Linked DNA regions of Homo sapiens: region 1 is linked to region 2. The links are contacts of gene promoters, found by promoter capture Hi-C in blood cells and fetal thymus (Javierre and others, 2016). All regions are on one chromosome and are shown on one strand. Each heading gives the region's core, a stretch centred on a gene start or on the middle of the fragment in contact. The rest is flanking DNA. Distances are from core to core; before and after follow the strand shown.

What was found. The method cuts DNA at HindIII sites, captures the fragments that hold promoters and counts their contacts. A CHiCAGO score of 5 or more calls a contact.
Region 1: a contact is called between a fragment that was not itself captured here and the fragment with the promoter of TUFT1 in region 2, in 4 of 17 cell types (M1 macrophages, M0 macrophages, erythroblasts and 1 more). The highest score is 9.1, in M1 macrophages.

What each region holds. Positions count from the first base shown.
Region 1 is chr1:151,776,580-151,780,516 of GRCh38, forward strand. It overlaps TDRKH (tudor and KH domain containing), which reads right to left. Exons shown (of 13, transcript NM_001083965.2): 4 at 3,372-3,561; 5 at 2,524-2,663; 6 at 2,106-2,427; 7 at 1-20. It also overlaps the pseudogene LOC100270670. Among named protein-coding and RNA genes, the nearest start is that of OAZ3, 12 kb to the left of the region's middle. The HindIII fragment of the contact is 3,201 bases long and covers 1-3,097 here.
Region 2 is chr1:151,538,148-151,541,861 of GRCh38, forward strand. It overlaps TUFT1 (tuftelin 1), which reads left to right and starts at 2,162. Exons shown (of 13, transcript NM_020127.3): 1 at 2,162-2,279. The coding sequence starts at 2,220. It overlaps CGN (cingulin), which reads left to right. Exons shown (of 21, transcript NM_020770.3): 21 at 1-545. RefSeq lists enhancers at 907-1,423, 1,939-2,454, 2,455-2,969. The HindIII fragment of the contact is 3,648 bases long and covers 1,813-3,714 here.

The sequences.
Region 1 (3,937 bases), core at 247-2,746, 240 kb after region 2:
ACTGAAGTCAGGACTGGGGACTGAACACAGAGATAAGGATGGTGGCCACATCAGACCCATCTCTGGTTGGAATGAAGAGACTAACCAGGGTAGTGAGAGGTACAAATACCAATGGCTGTTACCATTTTAAAATGGCAGGAGAGGCAACTGGATGAATCAAACAAGAATATCCTAAAGAAAGATACTAAGCTATCCTTTGTACCTTTCCATGTAACTGAGTAATAACAGCTTACATTCTTTGTCATGTGCTACATAGTCAAATCGGTCACCAATTATACAGAAGGTAAACCTCCATATGCTAGCTACAGCATGGATCAGTAAAAAGGTATATGGACAGCAATCTTTACATGGACAGTGACGGACATGGACCTGTTCCAGATCCCATTCTACCACTGACTCTTTACATGACCCTGGACAAGTCTGTGAGCTTCTTGGGAATCCAGGTCCTCTTTGCCCACGCCAAAACCTATGTACAGAAGAGAAAGCTCACAGCCTTTTCAATAGTGATGATTTTTAAAAACAGTAATGAAAAAGGCAATATAAAATCTGGCTGAGAATTTTACTTGTTGATAAAGTATGTCTAGGCTGGGCATGGTGGCTCATGCCTGTAATCCCAGCACTTTGGGAGGCCAAGGTGGGTGGATCATTTGAGGCCAGGAGTTCGAGTCCAGCCTGTCCAACATGGTGAAACCCCATCTCTACTAAAAAATACAAAAATCAGTCGGATGTGGTGGTGTGCACCTGTGGTCTCATCTACTCGGGAGGCTGAGGCATGAGAATCACTCGAACCTGGGAGGCGGAGGTTGCAGTGAGCCGAGAATGCACCATTGCACTCCAGCCTGGGAGACAGAGGAAGACTCTGTCTCAAAAAAAAAAGTATGTCTAGAGGAACAATATCATGTAAATCCAATTATTTGATGTATTACTCATTTGTTTCCTGTGTCAGCATTATTTTGCCATTTCCATCAGCTGTTTTATATTTAGAAAAATATTTATGTTTAGTATTAATTCAAGTAAAATATTATTACCAGTAAGGAATATCTGTGATGATAGACATAAGTGTATTCATGAAAAAAGACTTTTTATTGCTTCCTATTTTGGGTAATCTAAGCCAGTATTTCTTTTTAAAAAAATAGTTAATTTTTTTTTTTTTTTTTTGAGACAGGATCTCACTGTCACCCAGGCTGGAGTGCAACGGTGCAATCCCAGCTCACTGTAGCCTCGACTTCCTGGGCTCATGTGATTCTCCCATTTCAGCCTCCCAAGTAGTTGGAACCACAGGTTGCGCCACCATGCCCTAAGCCAGTATTTCTTTTTTTTTTAAACAGAAAACCTAGGTTATTTGTTAAGCCGTTACAAAAACAAAACAATTACCATTTGAAGTACTTTGAGGACTTTATCCCAGACTCATTTGTTCTGTTACAGAAACTAACCTAAAAGGTTGGAAATTAAAGAATATAACCTAAGAGGTTATAACAGAGCGGGCTGGTAAAACATGGCGAAAGGAGCTCTCTCTTTCCCACCCTGTCTATTTATACCTCCAAGCTCCTGTGCATTCTCACCACATAGGTCTGCTAGCTTACATAAAATGCATACAGTGAAGGCAGGAATTATAGGCCTACTCAGAGGGTACCCAGACACAGAAAGTTTGGGGTAAATAATAAACTACAAATATCCTCTTGGTTAATTCATTTTTGTTAATAAAGGTCATGTATCTATCTTTTGCTGGTAACAACTTGTCTCAATATAGTCTGTCTCAAGAAAGAAGTAGTTCAGGTTGGGTTTTGGAAAAGGAAGAAGACTTTCATCAACTTTGCTTCAGAGTGGAAGAGGCACCAAGTTCTCTCCTACAATTAGGAGCAGAATCTTATACCTGCATAAATCATTTTCAGTGATCAACATCTGCACCCTCAAACTGTCCAGCAACTGTTGGTGTGGATTCTACCTCCATCCCATCTTCAAAATATCTTACCGAATCTTCTGTCCTGACCCCAGCCATATTATACTGGCTGCTCAGACTGAGAAGGCATTCCTTCTAATCTCTCCAATATCTAAGCCAGTATTTCTATCTTCAATGATTAATGGGCTCCCTCTTTGTTACATACTTTCAAACATGGGCATCTCTGGGATGGCCTGGGCTTCAGACTTCTGAAAGCTGTCATCACTAGGTTTCTCCCAGGAACCTTCCTTTGACACTACCACAGCCATGTCGCCTCCTCCTTTGGGTGGAGGAGTCACCAGGGGTGCAGTCGGCTCCATGCTAGAACTGGTGTTTTTCCATAATGCTGGCTCTCCAGCTCCACCTGGCTCTGTCATGTCTTCTCTTCTCACACTGATTGGCTGTTTGCGTGGGACCCTGGTTTCTGCAGAATGAGCAATTCTCTTCCGAAGTTCTTCATCTTCTGAAACTTTCTCCAGTATCAAATGCTGTGGAAAACAAGAGAAAGGATGATATTCTGACCTGGGATAGAGTAAAAGGATCTTCTCATGCTCAGGTATAATTCAAGTCTATTAGCTACTTGCCTTGGCTGCTGCCACTTCCTTCTGTGTTCCTGAGATTTTTATAAGTCTTGATAGTAGTAATGTCCCTTCTGATTCTTTGTCACAGGTAATTTTGGCTCCAGATGCCTTACAGATAGAACGAATTGTCTCGCCGCCTCTCCCTACATTAAACAATATATAAAAACCTGCCCTTCCCTCCTGGCCAACCTTAGCTACTGGAGAAATCACTGTTTTGTATATACTAGGAGAAGAGAATCAGTTCTCATTTCTAAAGTGAACAAAATACAAGATGTTGAATGGAAATCAGGAGCTACTGAAATCATTACTGTGAAAAGGAGAATACCATATTCTTTCCTTTTTCCATTTTATTTAAACTCTACACTTTGGCTAACTTCATGTCATTTTCATTTTGACCACTCAGCATGGCCATATCAGGTCACAAGAAGATATGCTACATAGTGTGTCAGAACACCGGATCAAGGACAGGACATTTCTCTGCCTCTAACAGCAGCACTAAGCAATGCTCTAGGGGAAAGCATAAAAGGTACCCTCTAGAGCACTGTCTTGAAAGACTTGAGATAACATGAGCATCCCAAGCTTCCCTTTAAAAATCAATTATAAGGTAAATATAATACATCTACTAGAACCCTTAAAGAATCAATTTGTAAGGTTCAGATCATACAACTTCTTGAGGAAACAGGTTTGGTTTTACCACCAGTTCTACAAACAGTAAACCTCTGGTCTCAATGTCCCTTTTTTTCCCCTCACATGGTGAAGGGGAACTAGGCCAGAAAAAACCCTGGGAAGGTGTGAAAGAGGGGCAAAGGTAAAGAATAAAGGAAACAATAGAGGAAGCCATCCAGTGGTACCTATGATTCTGCCCACAGATCTCTGGGGAACTGAAAGCTGCTCAGACACTGGGGTATTCTCTGTCAGGATCTGATGGATTGCTGCTTTGGCCTTGCACACCTGAACAGGAAAACCACTGATAAGCAGCACTCGCTCATCGCCTACATCCTCTGTGTCCACATCAATCCGAGCACCTGTCTGTTTCCGCAGCTGCAAAGAAAAGGACATTTGGCAGTACATTCTGGAAGAGCTCCCATTTGAGCCCAGCTACAGACACTCTAAAACAAACCCTGGAGGTAGATAGAATTAGCCAAAGGAATTAGCTAATACTATCTATACAACCAGTCCTCAATTACTTTATATACAACCTCAGTTACTATCTATACAACCAGTCCTCACTTTATGGAAGGAGATTAGTAACAAATGTAACCCCAAATAGCAGTAAATTCAAACCCATTTATCTTTGTGTTTAGAATCCTTTCCCCTTACTAATTTTATTTGGATTAGAGAATCAAATATTTTGTTTTCTTGACATTCCAGCTGAACAATGGAAGATGGTAAGAAGAACCAGGTAGCCATTCAATAT
Region 2 (3,714 bases), core at 912-3,411:
GGGGGTCTGGTCCTGCTCAGGGTTTTCATCCTTCCTCCTCTCCCTCCTCTGTGACTGTGGATATGGTTATAAGGTGGTTGCACCTGGGAGCCCTGACAACTGGCTGCACAAATTCCAAAAGTAAAGGTGTCAGTCCCTGTGGCCTTCCTTGGGGCTTCTCTGACCACATGTGCCCAACTTCAATAAGAGAACCAAGGGACCCTCATTTTCTGAGGTGCTTGGCTCTGATTCAGGGCTTTGCAAGGGGTTAGAAGCTGACTGTAAAAATGGGAAGAGGCAACGGAAGACATTTATTTCTCCTTTGGATTTTGGGGAGAACCAAGCCCTGGTAGGGAAGAGGTAAGGGGGATGATTCACCTCCATATTTCCTAAGCAGGTTGTATAGGGAGCCGGTGGCAGGAGGAAGGCTGTTTTCACAAATGACTTGTAATGTCGTGATTAAAAAAATTCCTATATTCTTCTGCAAATCAAACGTTCTTTCCCAATCCAATCCAGCCTTGGTTTTATTTTAAATTAAATATTAAAATTACACATTTATATTGAAATCCTTGGTTTGTCTTCTCATTCTTTTTCTTGGCATATTTGGAGGTCCAGATTTTATGAAGTCATATTAACTGTACAGCTTAGGAGCCGAAGCTGGAGTTTTCTTCACCTGACTTTTCAGAGGCCCTTTAGAACAGAGCAGATGGGACCTACGAAACCTGGAGATGTTTATAGCAGCCCCATTCTCTTCTCTCCTGAACAACCTTCTGGGAAGAACAAGGACAGTAAATGCCTTTTTTTTTTTTTTTTTTTTGAGACGGAGTCTCACTCTGTCACCCAGGCTGGAGTGTAATGGCATGATCTCAGCTCACTGCAACCTCTGCCTCCCGGGTTCAAGCGATTCTCCTGCCTCAGCCTCCTGAGTAGCTGGGATTACAGGCGCGTGCCTCCACACCCAGCTAATTTTTGTATTTTTAGTAGAGATGGCGTTTCACTGTGTTGGTCAGGCTGGTCTCAAACTCCTGACCTTGTGATCCGCCCACCTCGGCCTCCCAAAGTGGTGGGATTACAGGCATAAGCCACTGCGCCTGGCCAGCAGTAAATGCCTTTTTGAGGGTTAGAGTAGAACAGACCAGAACTGGGTTTTATTCCCTTGGGTCATAGTGATAACCCCAGCATTCACTTCCCAGGTAGAAAAATCCTCATTCATTCCTAACTGACATAGGACCCAGTCCCTAACTGGGAGGTAGGGACATTTCTGCTGTTCCTGCCCTAGTGTTGCCTTGAAGAGGGAGCTGGCCCTTCACTAGAGCCTATTGCCAGGTATAGGAGTACTATCCCTTCAGGAGTGGGTCAGACCTCCTCCTAAAGTATTCTGTCTGCTGTCTCTGTGGACCACAGCCAAGTGAAGAAGCCATCTGCCAAGAGCAGCTGGGCGGGGACGAAGCTCCAGGGTCCTGCTTGGCCAACCCTCTCTTCTAGGCCCTCAAGATCCCAGCCTAGGCTTGGGGAGAAAATGCAACTGGAAAAGTCAAGGCTCATCCTTTCTCACGAACACAAATTCCTTTTAAGGCAATGTGTCCCGCCTCTCCCAACTATATAAGGGCAGCGTCAGTAAAAGAGCTTCTGCAAAACAAGCCCCACCCAGAGCCTAAGCTGACTGGGCCTCCTGGGCCTCTTGCCAAGGAAGTGCACCTGCCAGACTGGCTTAGGCCAGTCTGAGTGAGCTGGACCTTGGTGCCTGCCTTTCTGCGGTGGAGGAAAGGTTTACTCAGCTCCACAAAGCCTACAGGTGGCTTACGTATAGGGAGAGGAGCATGTATGGAAGGAAGCTTTTGCAGGTTCCAACTCCTCATCCACTAGGAGCAGGCAGGGTGATTCCCTCTGACCAACACTGATCTTGGAAAGATGGAAAGCGACAAGATTAATGAAGAATGTGCAACCACATACTCCAGATAAAGCTGTTCAGTTAAAGCAGCCCCATGTCGCTCCCAAGCCCCACCTTTGTGTAAATCTATGCGAGCACCGATGGGGCATGTCCCAGACCCATTGGCTCCGCCCACCTCACCTCCTCGCCTATCGTTAGTTCTCTGCGAAACCGCGAACTGGGGGCGCGGCCTATCTTCAGCCCCGCCCCTGATGGGCCTATACAAGGGGGCGGTTCCGCGCGCGCCCGCCCAGTTGGAGCCAGACAGCGGGGTGGACAAGTGGCGTGTGTGCTGCGACCCCGAGGGAAGATGAACGGGACGCGGAACTGGTGTACCCTGGTGGACGTGCACCCAGAGGACCAGGCGGCGGTAAGAAAAAGCGCTCTCGCTGTCTTCTCCGTTTTGTATTCCCGGTTTCTAAGTCCGCCCCTTCCGTGCCCCGCGCCGTGTTGGCTGACATCACCTGGTGCCCGGCTCGCGCGGTCAGCCCTGCGCGGCGCTTCTCTCTTTTTATTCTTTTGCCTGCGACGGGCAGTGGGAGTCGCGGGGTGAAGACTCCTTTGAGGCTGGAGGGTTCGGGGCGTCCCTGCCCTTTGGTAGGACACTGCGGCTCCTGCCTGGGACTCGGCGCCGGCGAGCCCGTGCTTGGGCCGCGGGTCTCAGGCGTCTTTTGGGCAGCCACATTGGGTCATAAGAGAATGAGCTCAAGCGACTGGGTCCCTGAGCGCCTTTGGACGTTGTGTCCTGCCGAGGAGGCTTAGGCTTTCCCGTGGGTCGAGGGTCCTGGTGACCTCCGAGGCCCTCCAAAGAATTTCATCATGGTGCTTTGGATGATCAGTAACAAGAAAAATGGTAGAGTAAATTACAGGGCTTGGACTGGAGGGCGGGGGGCAAGTAGGGGACGGTAGGACTCAAACTATTCCGAGATTGGCTAGGGACTCTACCTTTCGCTAAGGGATAGGGCTTTCCGCCCGGGGGTCACCTCTTGTCTTGGATTTCTCCTTCTTCCCCCTTGTAGTTCTCTTGTTTTCCTCCCTCTATCTGCCTGCCGATAGCTTCCTGGGACGGTGTGTTAGTTTTGCTTCCGTCTCCAGCCGCCAGGCCCTGGGATAGTGGAGGAAGGGGATGCAGAACCCGGGCCGAGAAGGGGAGGGAAGTGACCCAAGCGAAGGCTTCTGGACGGGGAGAGGGTTGCGGAGAAAGGGGGCGTTCTCCAGTGCAGGCTGGTCTACCCCTCTCTCCTCTTTCTCTGGCTCCCAGTCCCAGTTCTCCCCACCCTAGCTGACCATATGGTTTTTCCTCTCCAGAGGCTGAGGAGGGTAATTTGTGGCTGAGTGTTTCTAGGCTCTTTTGGGGAACTTAACCCAGATTAGGTGTGTACTATTTCATCAATTTCCAAGCTATTGTGGGTGGGAGTGAAATGAAAACTAAGGTGATGGGGAACTTGTGTATCATCCCCCCTCCCACATCTGACTCCCTTACTCTCTGCCTGCCTCATCCTGCTCTTGAGGTAGAGCTAACCCAACTGCAGCTAGATTATGGCTCTTCTTCAAACTCATTTCAGGTTTAGAATACAGATGGTCATTTAGTTCTTTTCCCAGTCCCCTCTCCATTTCTGCCTGGGCTATGAGTGTTTTTGCCACATTAAAATACAGATGTTGCTATTGGCCAACCCCAGTTGCCCAAACCCCATTCTTCTGTAGCCTGCCACATCCCCAGCTATGAGACTCTGAAGAGATGGAAGAAATCTATCCATTATGTGTCAGCCACAAGTCCTACTCCCTGCTCTTTGTTTTTAAGCGAC